Regions from separate parts of the Homo sapiens genome. Here regions 2 and 3 are each linked to region 1. The links are contacts of gene promoters, found by promoter capture Hi-C in human tissues and cell types (Jung and others, 2019). All regions are on one chromosome and are shown on one strand. The core of a region is centred on a gene start or on the middle of the fragment in contact, and the rest is flanking DNA. Distances in the headings are between cores, read along the strand shown. Region 1 holds the start of HS3ST1 (heparan sulfate-glucosamine 3-sulfotransferase 1). Region 2 has its middle 60 kb from the start of WDR1. Region 3 overlaps LOC105374492 (a long non-coding RNA gene).

Region 1 (4,383 bases), core at 1,378-3,877:
GGCATAGTGTTGTACACATACTAGGTGCTCAATAAAGACTTCGAGATCTTAAAATATTAGCAGTACAGAGATCTTCCACTAAAACCCTCTCATTTTTCAGTTGTTGGAACTGATAAAAAGAGTCTTGGGCCACACAACTGACTGACAGACACTTTTGCAGTCAACTACTACTGTGTCTCCTAACAGCCTCTATTCTCATGCCCACGGCTTTGAAAGGGAAACATGTTTGACTTAAACCCTGACTCCTTGAGGGAAGTTCCATTTACAAAGTTTTTTTTTTTTTTTTTTAAGAGCATAGTATGTTTCAGATACCATGCAGGATTGTAGGATTCTGGGATTCAGATACCATGGAGGATTCATCATTAAATCACGATACCCAAGCTCAAGGCGTTTATAATCTATTAGAGAAGACAGATCCCTAAATAGATGTTTCAATAATGTGATTGTGTTGTCATAGGAGAGCTAAGCTCTGGCACTACATGAGCTTCTGGATAAGAAACCTAACTCATGACCAGAAGACTTCAGGGAGAGCTATTTAGGAGCAGTGGCAAATGCCTGGACATACACATAAAACTAAGTAAGAACAAAATAGCCAGTTGGTGTTTTTATTTATCTGAATGTAAGAACATAGATTATCGATCAATGAACAATTGCTCAGATTTAAAAAGAAATGAGGAAAACTAAAATGTTAGTCCTCAAATTCCTGTCACTTCCCACATGTGCCCTGCAGTCATTTCCTGCAAATGGAAACTTCCAACAAAATCTCTGGGCTGGAGACCTGGGGTTCCAGTTTCTTTCAAGGTCTTGTGGTAGGGAACTAAGTGGGTGAGTAACCTGCCTTTGGCTTCCAGGGTGCAAACAGAATCATTGCTAACCCCCTTTGTGTCTCACAATGGGTAATGAAATTCATACTATGGCACCAAAGCACTTTGAGCTCTTTAGAAAAAGTAATCATACCAACTTAGAGCATTAAAACCACCCCGTATTTTGAAGGACTCATGATCTGCACTGTGCTTGGCTGCTGGTGGAAGCTTAAAGACACCAGTAATTGGCAGAACTTTATCTTAGACTTCCATTTGACCCTCACAACCTCACACATGATTTTACACAGCTTCCTATAATGGGGGAGAAAAGCCCTTCTTTTAAATCTAATGTTAGTTTAAATGCTAAGGCTTTCAAAGTGGGCCTTTAAAGTCACTTTTTAGAATTTGTATTTTTTTTTAACCTAAAATAGACATGCCAACATTATTCTGACTAAAAGAAGTAGACAAGGTCATTCAACTCCTAAAAGCTTATTTTCCAAAAGCACAGTTAGGTCTCAGCTTTCAGGGTGCTTCTGGCTGTATCAAAAAGACAGAATATACTGGTCACTGTGTTGTTTTCTGAAAGTGCCGAGGGTAATCTGTGTATGAGTTAAAGGGCCAATTTCCTATAGGAACCTTCTCTTAGATGGGATTTTTTTTTAATTAAACAATGTTGGTGAAATATATTTAAACGTAAATCACAAATTCGAAGTCTTCCAAATATTTATTTACTAATGTGGAAGACATGGAAACTACAGTAATCTCATTTAAAGGAAGTTACTTTGATGTGCATTTGCTTTTGGCGGGGTATGATTGCTGACCTGCCTTTGAGGGCAACTTCCTTTGGCTCAGGTAAGCAGGCAAACCCGTTTCTCCAAGGCGATTCCAACCCCACGCCCCTCAAAACCTTAAATCTTAAATTGAGTTATTGGGTGCAGGTCCTTTCTCCCACAGAACCTCCCAGCTTCCGGAATAGAGGAGCGGGGCAGAAATATCCTGCTTTTTATTTCAGAGCTGACGTTTGCAATCCTAGTGCACTAGCGGAAAAAAAAAAAAAAAAAAAAAAAAAAAAAAGCTGAATTTTCCGCGCTCTCCTGGCAAATTGGCGTCCGCTCTCCGACGCTAAACCAAAGGAAAAGGAGTGTTCAATGGCGACAGGGCGCTCTTTGAAGCCGGCTCCTCACGCGGATTCTGGCCCAGGCCGCCGCTCCGGTCCCAGTCCGGCTGCAGAGCGAATTGGAGAGGATGGCACCTCCTGCTTCCCGGGGGGCGGAAGGAGCGCCAGCGCCTAAGGTGGGTCACCTGCCAGGAAGGGAATACGCATGGTGCAGACTCACGTGGGAGGAGCACAGGTCCCGGGTACAAGTGCCGAGCTGGCGACTTAGAGAAGAGGTAGACTCGGGCTCAGACCAAGCAGGCGTAAGGGAGTAGACGGGACGTCCCGTGTTTGCAGTGACGGCGGAGTCACCCATCCCAGCAGCCTCACCTTCTTGGAGCGCTGGTCCCTCCCCTTGGACTGAAACCCCAGGGGCCACCGCACCGGGTGGGCGGGACCGACTACTACCCGACCAGCCGCTGGAGCTGCGTGCCAGGCGGGGCTGTGCGGAGCAGCTGAGCGCAGAGCGGAGCACCAGGCACCTAGCGGGCCGGACTCTGGGCGGCACCCGAGCGGGCCGGGCAGCAGTGGGCGCTCGCGATCCTCCTCTGCCCAACGCGCTCTCCCTCCGGGCCCGGCCTCCTCCGTCCCCTCCTTTTGCTCCCGCTCCTCCTCCCGCTCCTCCCCCTCCTCGGGATTGAGCACCAAAACGCCCGCCTGCAAGGTCCTCTGCGCCCTGGCAGCCAGGAGTCGCCGCCACGACAGCCGGGTCTCAGTGGGTGCCTGCGCCTTCTCCCCGCCCGCCTGCCCCGGGCCATCCAGAAACTTGCTCTACCCGCCGCGGGTGCTCGGCAGTGCTGCCCATGGCCCAGCCTAGGAGCCTATTTAGGGCGCCGGACGGGCTGGACAGAGGCGCGGCTCAGGTGAGTGCGGCGCGCGCGGGGTGGGAGAGTGGCAGGACGCAGGTGTAGAGGGCTCCGAGGTGCCTTTGTCTGGCGTTCTGGACTTCGGGCAAGTGCAGAACCTAAGAAGAATCGAGGCTGGAGCAGGTGGAGTGGATGCAGAGGGAACCAGGAAGCAAAGGCTGGGGATTTTCCCATCCTCCTCACCTCCTGCCCTAGCACCTCTGCTCTGGAAGTCCCGAGGGACCGGTTGATCTGTAAGGACAGGGACCCAGATTTCTGACTCTTACTGGGTTGGATGTTTTCCCCCCCTGCAGAGTCGTGAGGTTCGCTCCTGCCGGCCGCTTCGCGACCGCAGCTTCACCATAGGACCCTGTAGGGCAGCGAGAGCGCAGCACTCAACGGATCCTGGGTACCACCTGGGGCCAGAAACTGGGGCGAGGACACAGCCCGCAAAAGTAACTCGGCTGAGGGAGCCTTTGGGGGTGGAGAAGCCTTGGTCGGGTTTGCCTTTGCATTTGGTTGGAGATAGGCATCTCCCAAAGAGAGAGATTGAGGTGACAGCCCTGACAATAAACCTCTCATCCCTAATGCCAATTACATGAGGGTCTTGATTTTTTTCTTGTTACTTTTTACTGATTTTTTTCCCCCTTCGTGGTTTTCTATTTCCGGGCCCTTGGGTAGTGGCAGCGGATGGAGGTGAGGGATGGCGGGGTGCGAACCCGCGGTTGGAACGCCTAGACCCCAGCTCCCAGGAAGGGTCTTATTCGCGGAGCTTGACCTCTCCAGGTGCGCTCTACCAGCCAGGGGGCGGACGGCGCGCTGCTCCTCCTTCTAGCCCCAGCCTGTCCCAGGAAGCGGAGGACAGACCCAGAACGTAGGCGGATGATGGGAAGAAGAAGCTGGAGCCAAAGCCGGGTGCCGGCGCGGGATGGGGTGTGCTGGGCTCTGCAGTTATAGGTCTATAACTCTGCAGTTATAGGCGCTATAGGTCTTCCATCTCTTTCCCTCCCCTGGGAGCCAGCGATTCCTCGCACACTCAGGGCGCTCTCTTGGGCCAAGGGTTGCATCCTCCCTCTTCCTCCTCCTTTGCAGATCCAGTGGTACCCTTGCCTCGCCTTGCGCGAGTCTCGCTCCTCCCTTTCCCACAATGTTATCATGAGCTATTTTTATCTACAACTTGTGCCAAGATGCTTTTGGGGGGATTCTAGGGAGGCCACTCCAAATCCACTGTCTTTGCGCTGCGCTCCGAGAAACAGTCTCCTGTTAGCATGGAGCAGCCTCAAGGAGTGGCGGGGAGGGTGGCCGAGAACGGAAGGAGCCAGTCCGCCCTCTTCTCCTCCCTCAGCCCTAGCCCCGGAGGGAAACCCCGCCACCACCAGCTCGGCTGCGCCTCCCGCCAGTAGCCCCGGAAGAGGGTCCCCAGACGAGTCCCCACGCTCCCGCTTTCAGGCGCTGGGTGCTTGGACACTGCTGAGGCAGCAGCCTGGCACAGGCAGGATCCTTCATTCCCACCCGTGCGTTCTCGCTTTGCAGGCAAATCTCATTTTATTTTGTTGAAATGCTTCCACCCAAGGGTTAA
Region 2 (4,383 bases), core at 1,007-3,506, 1.3 Mb after region 1:
GCATCCTGGACTAGGACCCCAGTTCTCCTAGAGAAATCTGGATTTTTAGGTCAGTAATGTACCTACGCCAATAAAGAATCTGTCCCCAAAGTATGGAAACTGCTGCTTCAAGGGCCCATGTTTTCTGAAAAGTTAGAATGGTCCTAGTTTCATCCTCAAAACACAAGTGTTTTGAATTGGACACGAGGCTACGAAGGTTTTCCAGCACAGAAAACCTCACTTTGACCACTGGTTCAAGGTAACTCAACAGGGAACCTTTTCAGCACCTGTTCACTTGTCTGCCACATATGGAAAGGATGTCATTCTGCATTTGACTAGATTCTTGTGGTTTTCATCTTTTGGAGTTCCATGTCACATGACAGTGAACTACCATATATTTGATTTAGCATAGCCATCATGCAACATTATGGTATCTTTGCTAGTAACCACCACTTCTGACATTGAGTGGAGGCTTACCGCCATTCTGGAAAATCCATTCTTTCAAATCCTCCTCATTGAGGTTCCAAGTTCAGTTTGGCTTATTCATGGTAAGGCCAGGAATACACATTGTCTTGTCCTCAGGCGGTATTAACTCTACTGGTCTGTCCTAATGTCATAGGCTGAAGTCTTGGTTTTGCTGGCATCTCACAGGAGATCTCGCTGGGCCACTTTATTATTGGCATAAGTCAGACCCATCAGGAAGCAGCCAGTGCTCTGGAGCATACCCAAGTGCCAGAGGGAGGGGAAAGCCTACCAAGACTCAGGGGTCTATCCACAATGCTTAAGTATCTAGGGCATGCAGGGACATCACTTCCAACTTTCAAATTCAAGGACAGTTCCTTGGATTATCTCCTACCATAAACAGTGTACTTTCAAAATAGGAGTTTGTGAATTTGATACAGCGTATCACACTTAACTACTGTAAGCCATTTTTAGTGGGCTCCAACAGGTATAAGTTTTGAAGAGGCCTCATCAGATGAGGGCCCTGCAGCTAATCTTGGCCTTCTAAAATGTTGCCTTGCCTCTCATATTAGATCCATGGTAGGAGGTGGTCATGGGAGGCATCTGGGGGATACTTTAGTAAAAATACTACAGACCATTAAGATTCTAGCCTAAGTCTGCCAGTAGAAGGCTGATTACCCTTCAGGTCAGCTTCAACCATGTTACTGAGCCTTGGAGACTGAGCTCTTGGCCATGAGACAGCTAGTAACTTTTAGAACTTCCTAGCCTGATCTGGGTGTTGTGAGACCCATAGAGGCAGAAGCTCCATGGGCACAACAAGGTTGTGAGGGAAATAAACATAGAACTACATTTAAATCACAAAACTAGGTGGCTCAGACTCCCATCATCCTCAAGCTCTGTAGTACCTGCATCTGTCAGCTCATACCTGTAGCCTCAAGGGGAGATCTCTATGACCAACTGGCAAAGGGTAAAGTTCTGGTTTATGGATGATTGACTCAATATGTGATAGCCGAGTATAAACTGTTGTGACACTAAAGCTTCTCTGAGGGCACCCTAAGTCGTCATTGGGGAAAAAATCCTCTCATTTGGCAGAAGTTCAATCAATAAACTTGATCATCTCTTACGGGATAAGGGATTTGAGGATAATTGGTCCCATATATTGGAAAATGGACTGACTGGTCAGACCCCGGAAGATGATTACATAGAAGAGATCTGGAACACTCATATGTGGAGGGGCCTATGGGAATGGTCCAATTCAGACTCTTGAGCAGTAAGAAGCCCATGCCAAGACACGCACAGTGAAGACATAAGGGTATGGACCTGCCAATTGCATCCCAAGACTCGGTGGTGAAGAGGATTCTTCAACGTGGAAAGGAGAACAATTAAATCCCAGGCCCTAGGGGCTACCTTGAAGGGATTTTTTCTGGGAGAGTTCACCTCTGTGAAGGCATTGCTCAGCTTCAGATTGTCTGTTCTCCAACCTTTCAAAGATCATGGAGAAAACACACAGGCATCTAGTACTCCACACATGAAGGTGCCATGAGAGAACTACCCCCAAGACAGCTGATGGTTTCTTGAAACCTAGTTAGGTATTCAAGTGGTCAATTCTGCTTTCCAGGGAGAAGTGTCTAGATGTTGATCACAGCCCTTCAGGGGTTGAAGGGAATTGCTATGGGCACCTAGCAGAAAAGGTAAATTGTGCTGCTTAAAGTCCTACAGTGCACAGGACAGCCCCCAATGAAAAATTACACAGGAGCATCCAATTAAAAGTTTCTGATCTAGTTGATAGGTGGATATCAGATATACATGTAATTTGAGGACTTTGGAGGATTCTGGGAGCATAGGTAGTGTGTTAAGTATTTCAGATTCAGGTTGAAGCATGCAGATGCCTCACTATGACTGTTGAAGCTTGTTTTCTGGAGCTGAGAACTGGTCCACCTTCTACCTGTTCCCTAACACCTGGCCCTTTTGCTACGCATTTACCTTAGTGTCTATATACAGACCTTTATAAGCAACAATGAGTTTGGGTGTTAACATCTCCTACTATGGACACTGGTACAGTGATCACATAGGGACATCTTGCAAGCTGTGATTGGAGGACCAACCTTCCCATCACTTTCCACTGGGGCCAGACCTCAAGTGTTGGGTCCTGGATGACTCAGATCCAGGATCTAAAGTAGTATGACTTGGGTGAGGAATGCTTCCCACATCCAGTGGAAATTCAGGTGCCCCCTCTGAGAATGCACCTCATTTTAGTCAGGGGAGCAGCCTTCCTCTATCTTAAGTCTCCCCTGCACACAAGGCAGTATGAACAACACAACCACTGCAGAAAGTTCCAAGGCCTTTTCTGGCAGTGTCAGTGCGCAGTGAAAGAACTAGACTTGAGCCACACATTTCATGAAACAGGGTAAACTACCAAAGGTCTACTAGGTGCAGAGACTGGGGTCCATCCATCTCCCTCATGTTCACCAAGGCTGTCAGTTCAGTGCGTATCCCAGCAGAAAACGATCCTACGTGCATCACTCAGACACAGTGGTATACGGAAACGTGTGTTTCAGTCTGGTTTTGGATGAGATGGATCTCTGGCTACATTATAGCCCAAGCTCTAAGGGCCAAGAATTCAGACTTAAAGGTTCCATTCTGATGGCTATGTCATTGTATCTTCCGATACCCTCTAACCAGATTCTTCATACCAATGATTCCTGAGGCCTTATGACAGCCGAGAAGTTTATGAATGATTTCAAAACATTGAGTGAAAGAACAAACTGGAAGTTTTACTTATAACAGATAGCCAAGTGGGCAATCCAAGGTCACAGTTGTCTGAAAAGCCGAGTAAGACATTGACATGGATCAAAGTTGTCTAGGATCCTCAGAGCAGAGGAAGGTACAAAGGGTAGCTCAGGCACTATTGTACCTCCTGCCCCAATGCTTGCTTGCCCCAGAAGACACCCCAGAGCCCAGAGGTTCCCATCACATGCTTCTCAGCAAAAGATGACTCTTGGGACCCAGCCACCTGGTGATGGCGCATCACCTTCAAGTGTGCTTCTAGCATTGTATGATTAGCTCTGCAGCTCAACATGGCTGGGATCCATGAGCTCAGCCACTGAGCTGAGGTCAGGCCTAAGTCTTAGTCCCTGAAGGGCCTTAAGTGTGGAGAGGTTATGATACCAGTTCTTTATTTTTAATACAGGAAAAGCTGTACAAATTCTTCCATTAAGGGACATGACATAAAGGCATAAGGGAACCAAAGAAGCCAATAACATACTAATTCCCTCCAAGTATTTCACAAGCACAGACGCACCTCTGGGTCTATAGTAACTGACACTAACCAGCTGTGGCTATGACACCTGTCAGCCATAAGGTCTCACACCACATTACCCATCTCAGACGAGATTCACAGAGAACTTTGTGTTTCCAGTCTAGGTCTTATTGTATAGATTGTTCTTTGGGGTTAAGTAGCTACCTGGACACCACTAAGCGAGAGGCCTAGGACTTCTCCCACAAAAAGCACATAACTTTACTACACTTCAGTTTAAGTCATAGGCAAAGACGGGTAACAGGTATGAAGTTGAAGGACTTAGATAACAAGGGAAGAGTCATGATTCCCTAACAAACCATTTTATGACCAAGAAAAAAATCCCTCTCCTGGACTATGCATAACATTCAGTTCATTGTGACAGCTTTCTATGAAGTTGAGATCTAAATTGGTCATAAGACACTTTCATGGTACATGGTAGAGCCTGATCCATTACTGAGACCATATATCAGCTGAGGGCCCTCTCGAGTCTGGAAAAAGCCTGCCAAAAATCTACTCCCAGAATAGAGCTCTCAAGTCCATCTGGCAACAGCCCAGATCTGCCAGCACCTTGGCAGGACTTCTCACCCAGCCATACTAATCTCACACTGGCCCCTGTGCTGTCTGGTGCTGGTAGCAAGCCCTAA
Region 3 (4,383 bases), core at 943-3,442, 1.2 Mb before region 1:
TGATAAAAACTAAAACACATCTACTGGAATTTGTGGTGAGATGTTCCCATAATATATGTGAAGTGGTGAATGCAGAATTCACTGCAATGGACTGGAAACAAACTGGGTCCAGTGAGCCTATGCTTGTCTTTTTAGAAACTTCTATTTTCTCCACAAATGCTGAGTGTCCACAATGTATTAGGCATTATGCTTAAGTTAGAGAAATAATGTAATTTTTTCCCAGCAAAAATTCAGGATCCAGTATTCTCTAGGGGAACATTTTAGCTAACTAAACTAAAGTTTCTTAAGTGCTTATTGTTATTACCGAGATCTGTGCTAGACATTTGTTGTATTTTATCCCATTCATTTGAAGTAGGTATTGCTGTCCTAGTCTTACAGATAAGGAAGTGGGGAGTCTGCAAAACTGAGAGAAACTAATAAATTTACCGATGATATTTTAATACTAGTTGTACCTGGTATAACCAGAGTAGGTTACAAATCTGGTGTTTTTCCACTATTCTGTTAGGTGCATACCTTTATTATGTTTCCCTCTAAGCCCTAGATAATTGGGAAGTGAAAAAGGAAAAAAAATGCAGAATAAATATGTGTATGGGCCTCAGGTATATTTTAGCTCTAGGAGATAAAGTCATATATTTCTGTATGGCTCATACCCTCTATCAAAGGCATGGGTGTCCACAAAATGATTAGTGTTCGGCTCAAGTGAATTGTCTGCAAATATTAAAAATTCTAGTTTGGGCTAAGATTTATGTGTAGCTTAACCCAAACTAGAGTTGTTAATACTTTCAGAAAATAAAACCTCCCCAATGTAGACTATTTCTCCAATAGACATTCATTGGGCACTTGCTACGTGACAGCCCTCTCTCCCACCTGTAGGCAATGGAGTTCTCTGTTGCCTCCTGTGCTTGCCTTGATAAATGAGTTCAAACATTTTTCATTGCAGCTTACAAAAATTCAATCCAAACTAACTGAAGTTAAATTTAATTTCAGTTAAAGTGGACTATTTAATTAAAATACAAAGTCAAGAGGCTGACTAAATTTAGGCCTGACCTCACAGAAATGTTCCTGCAGTGTCTTTGAAATTTGATCTCTGTTTTGCTAGCTCAATTCTTCCTTCACGGATATTGATTTCATTCTTAGGTGGACTCTCCGTGTGTGGTCGAAAGATAGCTCCCTGCAGATCTAGGCTTACATTCTACCACCAGACAACTCTAGAGGGAAGAAACTCTCACTTGCCTATTAGTTCCTATCAAAGTCCCAGAAGTAAATTTAAATATCTTGTTCAGCATACGCACATCCTGAGGACAAAGCTTTGGGGTCAGGCTACCTGAACCAGTGGTGCCAAAAGTAGAGAGGAAAGTCTGATTCTTCAAGCAAGTAAGAGAAAAATAATTGAATGCTTCAAAGACAAAGCCATAGCTGTCCATCCTGTTTCACAACATTGATCACACTAATCACGCTGTATTTCTGTTGTCTATCTCCCTCACTCGACCCAAGCCCAGCAGGTTACATTCATACATCTCTTCATCATTTATTTCTCCAATAGACATTTATTGGGCACTTGCTATGTGACAGGAACTCTACTAAATTCTGAGTAGTGATAAATAAGGTGAACAGTTTCTCTGGCCTCACAGAACTTACGGTCTATTGTGGAGGTAGACATTGAAAAAGGTTGACAAGTCTTATGAAAGAAGAACTATGAAGTCCTAGAGTCCTCTAGTAGACTAGAACAGAGAGATTTATATTACTCTAAGAAGTCAGGCAGGCTTTCCCAAGTAAGAAATAGATATAAGTATAATTATAGCTATAGATCTCAATAGATGTTTCCTAAATAAGAAAATAATTGAATATGTGGGTACTGTCTTATTTTTTAAATTTAATTTAAGTTCTGGGATACATGTGCAGGATGTGCAAGTTTGTTACATAGGTAAACATGTGCCATGGTAATTTGCTACACCTGTCAACCCATCACCTAAGTATTAAGCCCCACACATGTTATCTATTTATCCTGCTACTCTCCCCCCACACCCCAGGGCCTAGTGTGTGTTGTTCCCCTCTTTGTGTCCATGTGGTCTCATTGTTCAGTTCCCACTTATAAATGAGAACATACGATGTTTAGTTTTCTGTTCCTGTGTTAGTTTGCTGAGGATAATGGCTTCCAACTCCATGCATGTCCCTTCAAAGGACATGATCTCGTTCCTTTTTATGGCTGCATAGTATACCATGGTGTATATGTACCACATTTTCTTTATCCAGTCTATCATTGATGGGCATTTGGGTTGATTGCATGTCTTGCTATTGTGAATAGTGCTGCAGTAAATATACACGTGCATGTATCTTTAAAATAGAATGATTTATATTCTTTGGGTATATGCCCAGTAATAAGATTGCTGGCTCAAATGGTATTTCTGGTTCTAGGACTTTGAGGAATTGTCACACTGCCTTCCACAATGGTTAAACTAATTTACATTTGGGGCGCTATTTTAAATGGCTATAATAATGTCTCATGTAAGCTATTTCATTTTGCAAAAGACCTAACATTTGCTCATACACTATGCACAATGCATAGGAAATATGCATATATGTGTGTATATTTATCTACTGTTCATTACATATTTGTTTTGAGTAAGTGTAAAAGATCAATGATACAAGCGTGTACACAGTAGGGAGATTGGGTCCTGATGAGGCTGGAGAACTGAACAGGGACCCCATCATAGGATCATGTGACAAAACTAAAGGTTTGCAATACCAGGAGCCCTTGAAAGATTTTAAGTTAGGGAACACCAGATTTGCCTTTTGGAAAGGTCATTTGGCTACAATGTGGAGAGTAAATTGCTAGGGAAGGTTGGGTATTAGGAGTGGAAACGAGATCATTATCCTCCCAATAGACTCCCCCTGAAAAAATGAACGCATGGCTCTTTTGGCCCTACCATTCTGCATGGATTATAAATGGCTGACATGTTATCTTATTTAGGGATTTCATTTTCTATCACACCTTCACCTGTACTTACTCACTTACTTCAGATAGATAATGTTGAGAAAGGGTCTAGCAATTTTTTTTCAAAGCCACAAGACTAGGAATGCCCAGGTGCCTGACATCGTTTACAGTCCGAGGAGACGCGGGCACTAGACCTGAAACTCACAGTCCTCCTATGTGCAGTCAAGGCAGCTTGAGACAGCAGAACTTGAGGCACTCCTTCTGCCATTGTCTTGATTTGTAATCTTTGTAATTCATGCTCCTGAGTTTTTGTGCTCCCTCCCTTCCATAAAAGTGGGGTACGAATACAATTTTCTGTGCTTTCACTCGGCAGGATAATTGTACTCATTAAATGGGAAAAGGTGTGTGCAAGTGCTTTGTGAATTCATTCATTCTTTTAACAATTTATTAAGTGCCTATTATACATCACAAGCTGAACCACATATTTATAATACACATTCAAATAAGAGAACAAAACAGAAATAAAAGCAATAATTAAATTACAGTGTATCAGTTTTTATAAAAAAAATAAGCAGAGAATGCTCTCATAGATACACACCATCAGGAGAAGCCTTTCGTCCATTTCATATGGGTGTGGGGCATGATCGGAGAAGGATGCCTACAGGAAGGCGTACTCAAGCTTAATTTTCAAAACACTGAATGTTTATTGATATTTTCAATTATTTTTTATTCTGAATTAATATTTAAAAGTACTATTTGTCTTATTAGCTGCATGAAAGAGGACTTTAGAAGAGTCTGTTTAGATTCTTTTAGCATGCAGGTACGGGGAGATTTCCTCAGAGTGGGTCTTCCCACTCCTATGCAGATGGTTCCCAGCGAGAGGGCAAATTCCTTTCCAGAGGGAACCTCGGTGCAGCGGCTGGCACTTCTGATGTACTTGCATAACTGTCAATTTTTACCCCAAATTTGTTTCCTCTGTGTACATGCTATAAATCACCTGGATTTTATTAGGGAGGTCTTGTATTTCTTAACAAGGTAACGTCTTTGGGAGGCAAGTCTGTTTGCCTGGGCCGTGAGCAAATAACATTTAAAACAATGTCCTCCGAGCTGGTACTCTGGTGAGATCAAATGGATTGAAATACAGGACGAAGTTTGTTTTATAAACCAAACCTCATCTTTTATGACTCTCATGCTTGCCTCTGGACTCTGAAAGATTCTAAGCTTGAAATAATCGAAGCAATAAGGGGTATTTTCTACTTGCAAAGGAAAGTTTTAGTTTATTTGCTTATTTTTCCCCCTTTTCCTTTCCTTTTTTCCTTTTTTTTTTATGCCAGAGCTTATAAACATGCAGATAAATAATCGAAGCAATAAGGGGCGGGGGGAGGTGGGGGAGACTCAGGCATGGCGGGCTGCAGGTCCCGAGGAGCCCTGCCCTGCAGGGAGGCAGC

What was found. The method cuts DNA at HindIII sites, captures the fragments that hold promoters and counts their contacts. A contact is called where the count stands out against the background at its distance.
Region 2: a fragment that was not itself captured here is called in contact with the fragment with the promoter of HS3ST1 in region 1 in 1 of the 25 tissues and cell types used here (neural progenitor cells).
Region 3: a fragment that was not itself captured here is called in contact with the fragment with the promoter of HS3ST1 in region 1 in 1 of the 25 tissues and cell types used here (dorsolateral prefrontal cortex).

What each region holds. Positions count from the first base shown.
Region 1 is chr4:11,427,138-11,431,520 of GRCh38, reverse strand. It overlaps HS3ST1 (heparan sulfate-glucosamine 3-sulfotransferase 1), which reads left to right and starts at 2,627. Exons shown (of 2, transcript NM_005114.4): 1 at 2,627-2,822. RefSeq lists a silencer at 2,482-2,661 and an enhancer at 2,752-2,971. The HindIII fragment of the contact is 7,575 bases long and covers 30-4,383 here.
Region 2 is chr4:10,174,578-10,178,960 of GRCh38, reverse strand. No RefSeq gene overlaps it. Among named protein-coding and RNA genes, the nearest start is that of WDR1, 60 kb to the right of the region's middle. The HindIII fragment of the contact is 3,621 bases long and covers 446-4,066 here.
Region 3 is chr4:12,609,813-12,614,195 of GRCh38, reverse strand. All of the region lies in intron 1 of LOC105374492 (a long non-coding RNA gene), which reads left to right. Among named protein-coding and RNA genes, the nearest start is that of LINC02270, 390 kb to the right of the region's middle. RefSeq lists an enhancer at 3,989-4,383. The HindIII fragment of the contact is 3,387 bases long and covers 499-3,885 here.